Linked DNA regions of Homo sapiens: region 2 is linked to region 1. The links are contacts of gene promoters, found by promoter capture Hi-C in blood cells and fetal thymus (Javierre and others, 2016). All regions are on one chromosome and are shown on one strand. The core of a region is centred on a gene start or on the middle of the fragment in contact, and the rest is flanking DNA. Distances in the headings are between cores, read along the strand shown. Region 1 holds the start of PKD2L1 (polycystin 2 like 1, transient receptor potential cation channel). Region 2 overlaps HIF1AN (hypoxia inducible factor 1 subunit alpha inhibitor).

The links. The method cuts DNA at HindIII sites, captures the fragments that hold promoters and counts their contacts. A CHiCAGO score of 5 or more calls a contact.
Region 2: a fragment that was not itself captured here is called in contact with the fragment with the promoter of PKD2L1 in region 1 in 1 of 17 cell types (naive CD8 T cells); the score reaches 5.2 in naive CD8 T cells.

What each region holds. Positions count from the first base shown.
Region 1 is chr10:100,326,516-100,332,421 of GRCh38, forward strand. It overlaps PKD2L1 (polycystin 2 like 1, transient receptor potential cation channel), which reads right to left and starts at 3,713. Exons shown (of 16, transcript NM_016112.3): 1 at 3,354-3,713; 2 at 2,696-2,809. The coding sequence starts at 3,588. RefSeq lists an enhancer at 732-851. The HindIII fragment of the contact is 1,134 bases long and covers 3,294-4,427 here.
Region 2 is chr10:100,537,019-100,542,924 of GRCh38, forward strand. It overlaps HIF1AN (hypoxia inducible factor 1 subunit alpha inhibitor), which reads left to right. Exons shown (of 8, transcript NM_017902.3): 3 at 3,616-3,764. Among named protein-coding and RNA genes, the nearest start is that of HIF1AN, 4.0 kb to the left of the region's middle. The HindIII fragment of the contact is 8,099 bases long and covers 1-5,906 here.

The DNA of each region.
Region 1 (5,906 bases), core at 2,463-4,962:
CCCCCAAATCTGGGTACAACAGAAATAATGGCATCACAGTACTCTGTGCTGGTCAGATTGTCCGTGGCATATTTTGTCCAGTGCCAGGCATCACATAGATGAAGTCTGCAGGCAGGCAACCAGTATGGAGAGCATTCTGAAATTGCTTTTAATATATGCCAGGCACTGAGTTGATGATTTCATGGCTATTATCTCACATAATCCTATTGGATTGGGTAAGTACGATGAGGAAACTGAAATTCAAAGAAGTTAAGCAAATTGCTTGAGGGCCCTCAGATGGTGAATGGCAGTGCACAGTGTTTGACCCAAACCTGTGCAAATTTGGAGCCCATGCCTTCAATCCCTACATAATACCATCTCTGAAAACCATAGTATTATGAATGACTAGTTTAAGAAAAGTACCATGATAAAATAGAAGTTATTTAACCTAGAGAACAGATGACCAAGGGCAAGCTATATTCATTCAAACAGTTGAAAGGTTGTCACTTCAGAGAGTAACAGGAACACCTCAGTAGTTGGCTTAATAGAAGAAAGTTCTGAAAAGGAAGTGAGCCTCTGAGGGGAAAGGCCCAAGTGTCTGTTATCTATGTGTTTCTCAGTCCAACGTCTGGCTCAGAGGAGGTGGCTCCATAAGAGGAAGGAAACAGAGCTGCCCAATAGTAGAATGGGTTGCCTCATGAAACAGTGACAGCCCCGCTGACACTCCCCAGGTTGGGCTGGTTGGCCACCTGACAGAGCACCATGGGAAGGATCACAGAGAAAGGATTCCACGTATTCTGCATCCTAAAATTAGATGAGCTCTAAACCCCTGTCTGCTCAAGGACTCTGTAATTACTGAACGAAGCCTGTGACTCAGATTTTGGCAAGTCACAGACCATCTGGCAATGCATCAGTGCACTGAGATCTTAGAAAGCAGAGAACATGAGTGGATTGGACTCCTGGACTTCCAGAACCCAAGCTTCCACCCTTTCCAGCTCCATACAATGGAGTTAGAAATGGTTCACTGTAACTCTGGGGAGCTAGAAACAGTCCTGTTCCAGAGGCTAATCTGGAAAGAGAGACGTTTAAGTCATTTATAGAGAAAGGCTCTGCCTGTGGGTTTCAGCTGCTGTCACGGGATCTGAAAAAGGAGATGACTTCTCCTTGCTAGCAGATGGTTAGGACAAAAATAATCGATACGTCAACAAATGAATTTCTGACAGCCATTTGCTGAAAGGAATTGAAAGGGCCCCACAATATGTACATTGGGCCGGCCGTTGTTCCTCACATGCACTGTGTCCTTTCACTCCCTGCAGAGTGGCCAGTGACAAACACAGAGGACTGTCCCCTCTGTCCAGCATGGAATGAGTTCCGATAGAGCACAGCCAGAACAAAGTGCTTTCTGCCAGCTTTCCTAGAGGGCTTGCACAAATGTGGGTGGCTCAAAAAATAAGACAACATTTCATCAACATTAATGTTATGAGACTCTTTGACTCCACTTTCAAAAGATTTATGCACCCTGACAAGAACAGAGTATTGCGGAGCCTAGAACACCTACTAATGAGGGCATCTTAGTTGTACGATTCAACCTACAGCTTTAATCAAAACACAACCCCACACACAACTATATTAAACTAGGCAAACATCACTTGTGCAACTTTTGAAAGAAGTAATAAACCAAATACAAAGTTGCTGTCATTACCTACAAGTCTAATAGCATCTGTTTGGTCCAATTTTATTATTATTTACGGTTCTTTGACTCTATCTTCCCACAGTCGCCCTCCTATCTTTTCACTTGCTTCTCTCAACTTAGAGATCAAAATTTCTCAGTTTGTGTCTATAGCTAGAGCCTCAATAAGCTTCCTCCAATGGCATGTGACATGGTGGTCTCTCACATGGGACCATCACCATACCATGTGTTTCCCTCCCTCTCTTAACAGGGATCTGAGATCTAAGGTCGCCTGGATCTTTTACTTCCTCTCTTTTTTCTTCCATCTTTTTCTCTGCCTCTAAAGAAACATGCATCGGATATAGTATAATAACTACGTGAAGCCCACCAAACTATCTTTCCAAACAGAAGGGAGTGGTTTTCCACTCTTTTTTTTTTTTGGAGACAGAGAGACAGAGTCTTGCTCTGTCCCCCAGGCTGGAGTGTAGTGGCACGATCTTGGCTCACTGCAACCTCTGCTCCTGGGTTTAAGCGATTCTCCTGCCTCAGCCTCCTGAGTAGCTGGGATTACAGGCACCTGCCACCCAGCTAATTTTTGTATTTTTAGTAGAGACAGGGTTTCGCCATGTTGGCCAAGCTGGTCTCAAAACTCCTGACCTCAGGTGATGTGCCCACTTCGGCCTCCCAAAGTGCTGGGATTACAGGCGTGAGCCACCGTGCCAGCCCACTCTCTACAGAAGGGTAAAATATTTTCACCTTTCACCTTTTCAGCCAATAGAAAACAATGGCTGCCAAAAACTGGTTTCCCCTTGTAATTCTTGACCAAACTGCCTTCCTCTACTGACAAATTCCTTTTAAACAAAATATCTTAAGCTGCAAAGGTAAATAGATGGGATTGGAATATTGTTATCTAAAGTTCCCGGATATAGCCTGCTTACACAGATAGATGCTCGCTCCACAGATGTTGCCCACAGGAATGTTTATACATATAGTGCACACATAGATGTTTCTCACAGACAGATGTACACAAACACAGATGCTACTCACGTAGACAGATGTCCACCAGGAACACAATATATACCAACAGCTCCCTCAGGGTGGTCTTGATATAAAGTTCCCGGTTCTCAGCTGTGTTCTCAGTCAGGGTTGTTCCCCAAAGTCCTAAGGGGCATGGGAGAGATGCCTGGGATGCTCAGTGGCAGTGTTCCTCCCAGTCATCCCCACCCATCTGTCTCTGGACTTTAGCCCCTTTCCACCCCTGCCCTTCCTTGCCCATCACCTTCATCCTTGGCTGAATCTGGCTACTGTACCCACACCCATGCTTGCTCTTCCCATCAGCTCCCTGAGGTCGACAGGGGTGAAGGCCCTGGCTTGTAGAGAATGAAGGCATGGAAAGGAGGCACCTGTTCCAGGTGGGGTAGTCTAGGGCATCATCACATCCATGTCCTCCCTCAAACCAGCTCCCACATACCTCTCTGGATCCCCAGGTGATGACCATGCCAGGCTCCCACAACCGGTAGACCGCTCAGCTGGCCTCTGTGTTCTGGGTCATGCAGCACTACCATGGGCAATTCATACACCCCAAAGTGACACCGAAAGGTCACCTCTTCTTCAGATCACATTCCACCCCCACCCCCTGCCCAAAAGCTTTTGGTGACTCCTCCTGATTCTAATATCCCAGGAGAACTGTCCCCCTATCTGGTACCTCTGATGCCTTGACAGATATGGAGGCAGCAGCTGGACACCTGGGTCCTGTATGCCGTCTCCTGGGGTTCATCTTCAGGCTTCTTGGGTTGGGGCTGGAGAGGCCCCGTGCTGGAGATGGTGCAGACTCTCAGCGTCCCGTGTGGGGAAGGGGGACCACTGTAGGCGGGGTTGTCCCAGGCTCCACTCCCCAGCTTTTGCAGCTCCTGCCCCTCAGGACTTCCCACAGCATTCATGGGGAATGAGGTGGGGGGGCCCGGTACCCCAGGTGCCCACTCTCAGCTAGAGGAAGAGGGAGCAGAGGCACAGCCCAGCCTAGCCAGCAGAGAGCAAATGGAAAGGCGTCTGAGAGCAGCTGTTTCCACACAGCCTGGGCTCCTGCCTTTTGTAGGGGGATGTCTGTGCCTGCTGGGGAGGGAGCGGATGAGAGGACAGGGTGGGGAAGGACCATCAATCCTGTCAGGAGCTCTCTCTCCCTCTTGCTGCAAGCCCCAGGGGACCAGCCGAAAGGGGAGGTGAGGGAACTGGAAGGTGGGGGTTTGAAGAGGGGAGAGGGGAGAATAGGAGGAGGATGTGGAGCTGGGAGTGGAAGGAGAAACGGGAGGAAAAGGCGATGCTGGGGATGAAGGGGGCTGCTCGCAGATGTGCCTGGTGGAGAGATGGCCCAGAGGTCGGACAGAAGAGACGATCAAAGAGCAATGGGAGGAGCTGAGACAGGAGGGGAGCCGGGGGCCTGTGCTGCGGGTCTGAGCTCATTTCCACTAAAAGCTCCTAAAAGGGCCGACATGGATTGGGGTGGGGACCAAGGCTGGGAGGAAAGCTGAAGAGCGCTGTCCCCCTCCCAGGCTCTGCCCACCTCCCAGGTTCAGTCAATGGGTCTGAGGCTCCTGTCCTGTCTCACCTTCAGCTGTCCCCTGGTGGAGCAGAGATGGGCAGCTCCCTTCCCTCACTTCACCCTCTCAGCCGTGGGGAAAGGACAGTGGCAGGAGGAACCCCAGTCTCACATACTTCAGGGCACTGAGGGGGCAGGGGAGAGGACCACAGAGTCCTAGGTTGTCTATATTCCTTGTTCTGAAGCTTGCCTTTCCATGGCTTACAGGTGAGATACACCAAGAGAGGGGGTTCCTTAAGGGTGTGGGGCTCAGTATGGGAAAAAGGCTAAGACCTGGTTGGGAGGCTGGATCGGAGAACAAAGGACAAGGACAGTATGATGTGGGACTAAAGGGGAGTGGATATCTGGACCCAGCTGAGCTGGGAACCTTTTCCCATGGCTCTGCTTAGTCCTGGGCCTAGAATCGTAAACTTGAGCACAAAGTGGAACTATCCATGATATCAGGATTAATCTGCTTTCTTTATAACTGCAGGTCTCTGAATTAAAACTGTGTCATGGGCCCCCAAGCACATCCCTGCCTATGCCCTGCTCCAGCTTCTGATCACCTGCTCCAGCTCCCCTATAGGCATGCATGATGCCCCAGAATGGGGCTGATCCCACAGGTTGTGGTGGTCACCCTGCAGTTTCTCCTCCTTGAGGCTAGAGCAGAGACTTTCCTCTCCTAACTCCTGGCTCCCCACCCAGGGCTACTCACTGGCCTGAAGCCCACCTTCACATTCAGCAAAACATCAGCCTTGTCAAAATAATCAGTCTTGAGTGTCCCTATAAAGAGATCTTGGCTGGGTGTGGTTGCCCACACCTGTAATTCCAGCACTTTGGGAGGCCAGGGCAGGAGGATCACTTGAGCTCAGGAGTTCAAGACCAGCCCGGGCAACATGGTGAAACACCGCCTCTACAAAACAACAACAAAACAACAAAAATTAGCCAGGCATGGGGTGCGTGCATGTAGTCCCAGCTGCTACTCAGGTGGCTGGGGTGGGAGAACCACTTGAGCTGGGGAGGCTGAGGCGTTGAGGCTGCAGTCAGCTGAAATCACACCACTGCACTCCAGCCTGAGCAACAGAGCAAGACCCTGTCTCAAGAAAAAAGAAAGAAAGAAAGATAACAAGTGTTGGCAAGGCTGTGGAGAAAAGGGGCCCCTTGTATGCTTGGCTGTATTGTAAATTAGTACGGACATCTTGGAAAACAGTATGGAGGTTCCTCAAAAAACTAAAAATAGAATTACCATATGTTCCAAGAATCTCAAAGGAATTGAAATCAGTGTGTTGAATAGATGTCTCCTCTCCCATGTTCATTGCAGGATTATTAATAATAGCCAAGATATGGAAACAATCTAAGTATCCATCAACTGACGAAAGGATTTAAAAGATGTGGTATATATGCACAATATAATATATTCAGCCTTGAAAAAAAAAACACAGAAAATTCTGTCATTTACGACAACATAGATAAACCTAGAGAACATTATGTTAAGTGAAATAAGCCAGGCATAATGAGACAGATGCCCTATGCTCTCACTTATATGTGGAAACTAAAAAAATTGAACTCGTAGAAGTAGAGAGTAGAATGGTGGTTACCAGAGGCTGGGGGTGAGGGGTGTGTGAGAGGGGAAGAGAGTGGTCGATGGATAAAAGCTTTCAATCAGGCAAGAGAAATATGTTC
Region 2 (5,906 bases), core at 2,455-4,954, 210 kb after region 1:
TAAGCCTTGTTCAAAGTGAGAAGCCAAGGCCGGCGGGGGTGGCTCATGCCTGTAATCCCAGCACTTTGGGAGGCCGAGGTGGGAGGATTGCTTGAGTCCAGGAGTTCAAGACCAGCCTGGGAAACGTGGTGAGAGCTAGTCTCTGCAAAATTAAAAACTAAAACAAAAAACCATGGTGAGAGGTCATTACTTGACTCTGCTTGCTTCAGTTTTGGAGTGCAGTTCTAGGGTTGGGAGATATTCCGATTTTCAAGAGAAGTTCAAAATCAGGATTTTTATTTAAAATCTTTTGACTTTAAATGGAGCAACTAAATCAGATTTAAAGAAAAAAAGTTGCAGGGGGCCAAACAAAAATGTTTGTCACTGGATTTAGCTCTGAAAATGCCTGTTTGTAGCCATTGTCCTTAAGTATTGTGATGACTGAGGATAGTTCAACCTGAAAAGTTGTATAGTTTGTTGTGATTCTGCAGTAAAGAAGGTTAGGATTCTCTAGCTTAGGGAAGATCAGATTAAATTTGTTTTTCCTATCACAACAGCAACACAAGACACACAAGACAGTGATTCTTCCTCTCTGCTTTTATTCCTGCTTATGAGGACAGCCTCTTATGTAGGTCCGAGACAGTATTCAGTCCCACACTATAACACTGCCTCTGGGGAATTGCTTTCGCTCAGTACTTCACGGTGAATTACCCTCTCGCATTTGGTGTCCAACCCTGGGTTTCTCTCTAGTCTCTTGCTTCACTCACTCCTGTTCCTGACTCCTTATCAGCAGTCTGTGGCTAAGTGAATGGATTTGAAATATCTTTTTTTCTTCTTCTTAACACTTAGCAGTTGTCATAATGATGGGATTTTTGACCAGAAGAGTTTCCAAGATATGAACTGTGGTCGATCTGTCCATGATGTCTTAATATATTGGTTCAGTTATCTCATGCATTAATTTTCTAAAATTTAACACAGTGTGTGTGTGCACACTTCCATATACACACACCCAACATTGAGAGAAAGATTGATTTAAATGATGCTGTTGGAGTGTGTAATTCCATTGAATGAACATATACCCAAGAATAAGCATAAGATATGTGAATCTTGTGGTTCTTCAGTCGCTTGAAGTTTCTTGTGTCCCATAGTGAGAGCATTTTGCATAAGAATGAGTGTAATCTGTACTTTATGGGTGATTAAAGAGTTTTCAAGGAAAATCTTTAATTGTTTGGAAGTTTTACCCTATCAGCTGACTTTAGCACCGAGCAGCTTCACCAGTCAGCTTCACTTCAACCTGATTGGACAGGTTGTGGCGACTATGGGGTGAAATGTATTAGGATCCTCTGAGCTATTTTGAGCATTAACCATTCTGGTGTAATCATAATATTGTTTAGATTCATATATGGGCAGTATCACTGACTCTTTCAAAGTTACTTGCATATTTTTTGGGTGAATATATAATTATTATCTTTGGGGAGCGTTGCATTGAGTCTTGAGGATTTCATGTTCCTACAAAGGTAGTGTTTCCAACTCATCAAGATTTCCTATTAAGGCTGGGCATGGTAGCTCACACCTGTAATCTCAGCACTTCGGGAGGCAGATCACCTGAGGTCAGGAGTTCGAGACCAGCGTGGCTAACGTGGTGAAACCCCGTCTCTACTAAAAATACAAAAATTAGCTGGGCATGGTGGCACGTGCCTGTAGTCTCAGCTACTTGGGAGACTGAGGCAGGAGAATTGCTTGAACTCAGGAGGCAGAGGTTGCAGTGAGCCAAGATTGCGCCACTGCACTCCAGCCTGGGTGACAGTGAGACTCCGTCTCAAAAAAAAAAAAAAAAAAGATTTCTGATTAACATTGCCTTAAACATTGTGATTCTAGGCAGTGAGATGAGATGCCTTTGAACCTTTCTTTTTTTTTTTTTTTTTTGAGACAGGGTCTTGCTCTGTCACCCAGGCTGGAGTGCAGTGGCATGATCTCAGCTTACTGCAACCTTCACCTCCCAGGCTCAAGCGATCCTCCCACGTCAGCCTGTCAAGTAGCAGGGACCACAGGCATGTGCTGCCACCACCATGCCCAGCTAATTTTGTGTATTTTTAATAACCAATTTATTTATTTAAATACATAAGGTTTTGCCATGTTGCCCAGGCTGGTCTCGAACTCCTGAGCTTAGGCAATCCACCTCCCTTGGCCTCTCCAAGTGCTGGGATTACAGGCGTGAGACACCGCACCTGGCCTCTTTGAGCCTTTTGAAATAATGATCTCAGGACCAGGACAGAGATGCTTCTGTCTTTTTTTTAGGTTTGCACACTTATTAAATGTCTCTTGTGGGCTTGTTCAAGTGTGTCTGGGTTTTCATATCTCTTAAGTAACTTATGACCTTCCTCAGGTATGTTAGGAGCCTGAGGCCTTTACCTAATAAGCTATCTTCCTTACTTTAGCTGTAGAAGGCTGCAACAGGATAGGTGGCTGAATCAGTTAAGATAAACTAGGCTTCAAGCCAGAGCTCGGGCTAGAAACAACAGAGGCTTATTTCTCACTTACTACATGTTGATCATGGGTAATGTCATATTGTTCTTTACATCATCTTACTTGCTCTGGCACCCAGATTGCCCCAGCAGCTACTATCTAGAACTTTGGAGTTGCTGTGGCAGAAGGAAAGAGATGTGGTAGTGGTAACTTGTTCTTAAATTACAGTTGGAAACAACACAAGTCGCTTCTGTGGACATTTCCTTGGCCAGAGCAGCGTAAATAAGCAAGCCTGGCTTCAAGGGGATGTGAAAGAAAACTCGCACACTGAGGGAACCAGCTCTTGGTGAACAGTAATACAATTTACCACAGTGGTCATCAAGGGCCAACGGAGATGTCTCAGGCTCTGCGAGTCTCTGGAGTGAGACTGATTCATCATTCTAGGGTCTGTGGATAGGCTTCTAGGAGTCTGAAATTGTGTGAAAGTTCTGGGTGTATGTGCATTTTTATGGGGAACCTCCGTGGATTCTTTTATTTATTTATTTATGTATTTATATTTTTTGAGATGGTGTCTTGCTCTTGTCACCCAGGCTGGAGTGCAATGGCACGATCTCAGCTCACTGCAACCTCTGCCTCCCAGGTTCAAGTGATTCTCCTGCCTCAGCCTCCTGAGTAGCTGGGACTTCTTCTCCAGGTTCTTTTTTTTTTTTTTAATTTTATTTTTCATCTCACCCTCCTACTCTTTGGATTCTTAAAGGAGTCATTCTGTGACCCAAAAAAGGTTAAGCATCACTTCTTTAAAGAAAAAGTTTGGGGGCCAGATGCAGTGTCTCACACCTGTAATCCCAGCACTTTGGGAGGCAGAAGCAGGAGGATTGCTTGAGCCCAAGAGTTTAAGACCAACCTGGACAACATATTGAGACCTTGTTTCTTTAAACAAAACAAAGAAAAACCAGTAAATTAAAAAATTTGGTGTTGAACATAACTCAATGAAGGATAAGTAAGAATTCAGTTGTATGAGAATCCATGTTGGCTAAAATTTGCCTGACTACATCTGTTCTCTGTGGGAGATGCTGGTATGGATTTGGGCTTGGATTTTCAGATGTGGAGAGGCCATGCCAGGGGCTGTGTGTGCATGCACTAATAGGATTTTCTTCTTGGGGAACATAGGTTGTATCTGCAGCAAACGCTCAATGACACTGTGGGCAGGAAGATTGTCATGGACTTCTTAGGTTTTAACTGGAACTGGATTAATAAGCAACAGGGAAAGCGTGGCTGGGGGCAGCTTACCTCTAACCTGCTGCTCATTGGCATGGAAGGTAAGAAATCTTTCAAAAGCAGCATGGCTTGGAGTCATATGAACCTGATTTCTAATCCTGTCTTCACCGCTTATTAGCTCCATGACTTTGAACAAGCCACTTCACTTTCTTAAGCCTCAGCCTACTCAGCTCTAAAAGAAACATAATAGGGGCTGGATGCCGTGGCTCACGCCTGTAATCCCAGCAGTTTGGGAGGCCAAGGTGGGTGGATGATGAGGTCAGGAGATGGAGACCATCCCGGCCAACATCATGAAACCCCGTCTCTACTAAAATACAAAGAAAACAAATCAGCTGGGCATGGTGGTGCGTGCCTGTAGTCCCAGCTACTCGGGAGGCTGAGAGAGGGGAATTGCTTGAACCCAGGCGGTGGAGGTTGCAGTGAGCCAAGATCACGCCACTGCACTCCAGCCTGGCGACAGAGCAAGACTCTGTCTCAAAAGAAAGAAAAAGAAACATAATAGGGCCAGGCATGGTAGCTCATATTTGTAATCCCAGCACTTTGGGAGGCCAAGGCAGGAGGATTGCTTGAAGCCAGAAGTTTGAGGCTACAGTGAACTATGATTGCACCACTGCACTGCAGCCTGGGCAACAGAGTGAGATCCTATTGCTTAAAAAAGGAAAAATGAAAAGAAATGAAACATGATAATGTCTTGTAAATAGTTGTGAAGTTGTGAAGATTAAATGAAATAATGTATGTCGAGTCTGTTTTTTTTTGTTGTTGTTGTTTTGTTTTTTTGAGACAGAGTCTCACTCTGTTGCCTAGGCTGGAGTGCAGTTGTGTGGTCTCGGCTCACTGCAACCTCCGCCTCCCGTGTTCAAGTGATTCTCCTGCTTTAGCTCCCAAGTAGCTGACACTACAGGCGTGTGCCACCATACCCGGCTTATGTCGAGTCTTTAAGCTAGTTTCGTGTATTCTAAAAAGTTCCCTTTTCCCTTCCTCAGCTGTTATGTGAGTGTGTATACTGAGATATTAGGGACCTCTCTGAAATACAGACATGTGATGCTTAATGTCAGGGATACGTTCTGAGAAATGTGTTGTTAGGTGACTTCATCATTGTGCAAACACCATAGAGTATAGTTACACAAACCTAGATTGTGTAGCCTTCTATATGCCTAGGCTATATGGTGTAGCCTCTGACTAAACCATGTACTACATGGTGTTAGCATATTACTGTGCTGAATATTATAGTCAATTCTAACACAATGGTAAGTATTTGTGTATCTAAACATACCTAAATATAGAAAAGGTATAGTAAAAGTACGGTATCAGATACTGCAGGAAAAAGGTGACAAAAGAAAAAAGTATATAAAGGTTAAAAAATGGTAGTTTGGGAATTTTTTTATTGCCAAAAAAAAAAAAGATAAAAAACGGTATACCTGTATAGGGCTGCTCCATCATAATCTTATGGGAGCACTATCGTAGATGCAATCTGTTGTCGACTAAAATGTCATCATGTGGCACATGACTGTACCACTTTTCTCTACTAGATCTGTCTATATTCAGACAATTTTTGTCCCTGTGAAAGAGGAGAAACTTATTTTTTTAGTGTAAATTCAACTTTATTGTTTTTATTTATTTATTTATTTTTGAGACAGAGTCTCGCTCTGTCGCCCAGGCTGGAGTGCAGTGGCGCGATCTCGGCTCACTACAAGCTCCGCCTCCCAGGTTCACGCCATTCTCCCACCTCAGCCTCCCAAGTAGCTGGGACTACGGGCGCCCGCCACCACACCTGGCTAATTTTTTTTGTACTTTTAGTAGAGATGGGGTTTCACCGTGTTAGCCAGGATGGTCTCGATATCCTGACCTCATGATCCACCTGCCCCGGCCTCCCAAAGTGCTGGGATTACAGGCGTGAGCCACCGCGCCTGGCAAATTCAACTTTATCTTTTAAATAGATAATACATTCATGGAGTTCGAATTCAAAAGGTGTAAATAGGTACATAGTGATAACTACCCCTGTCTCTTAGCCTCCCAATTTCCTCCCTGGAGGTACTGCATATTATTAGTTGCTTGTGTTTTCTGCTAGAGAAATTTATGCATACACTAATAAATATGTGAATGTGTTTTTTTTTTTTTTTTTTTTTTTCTTTTGAATGAAAGGAGAGGCCCTTAAACTCCACTCAGGAGAATGAGAGCTTTTT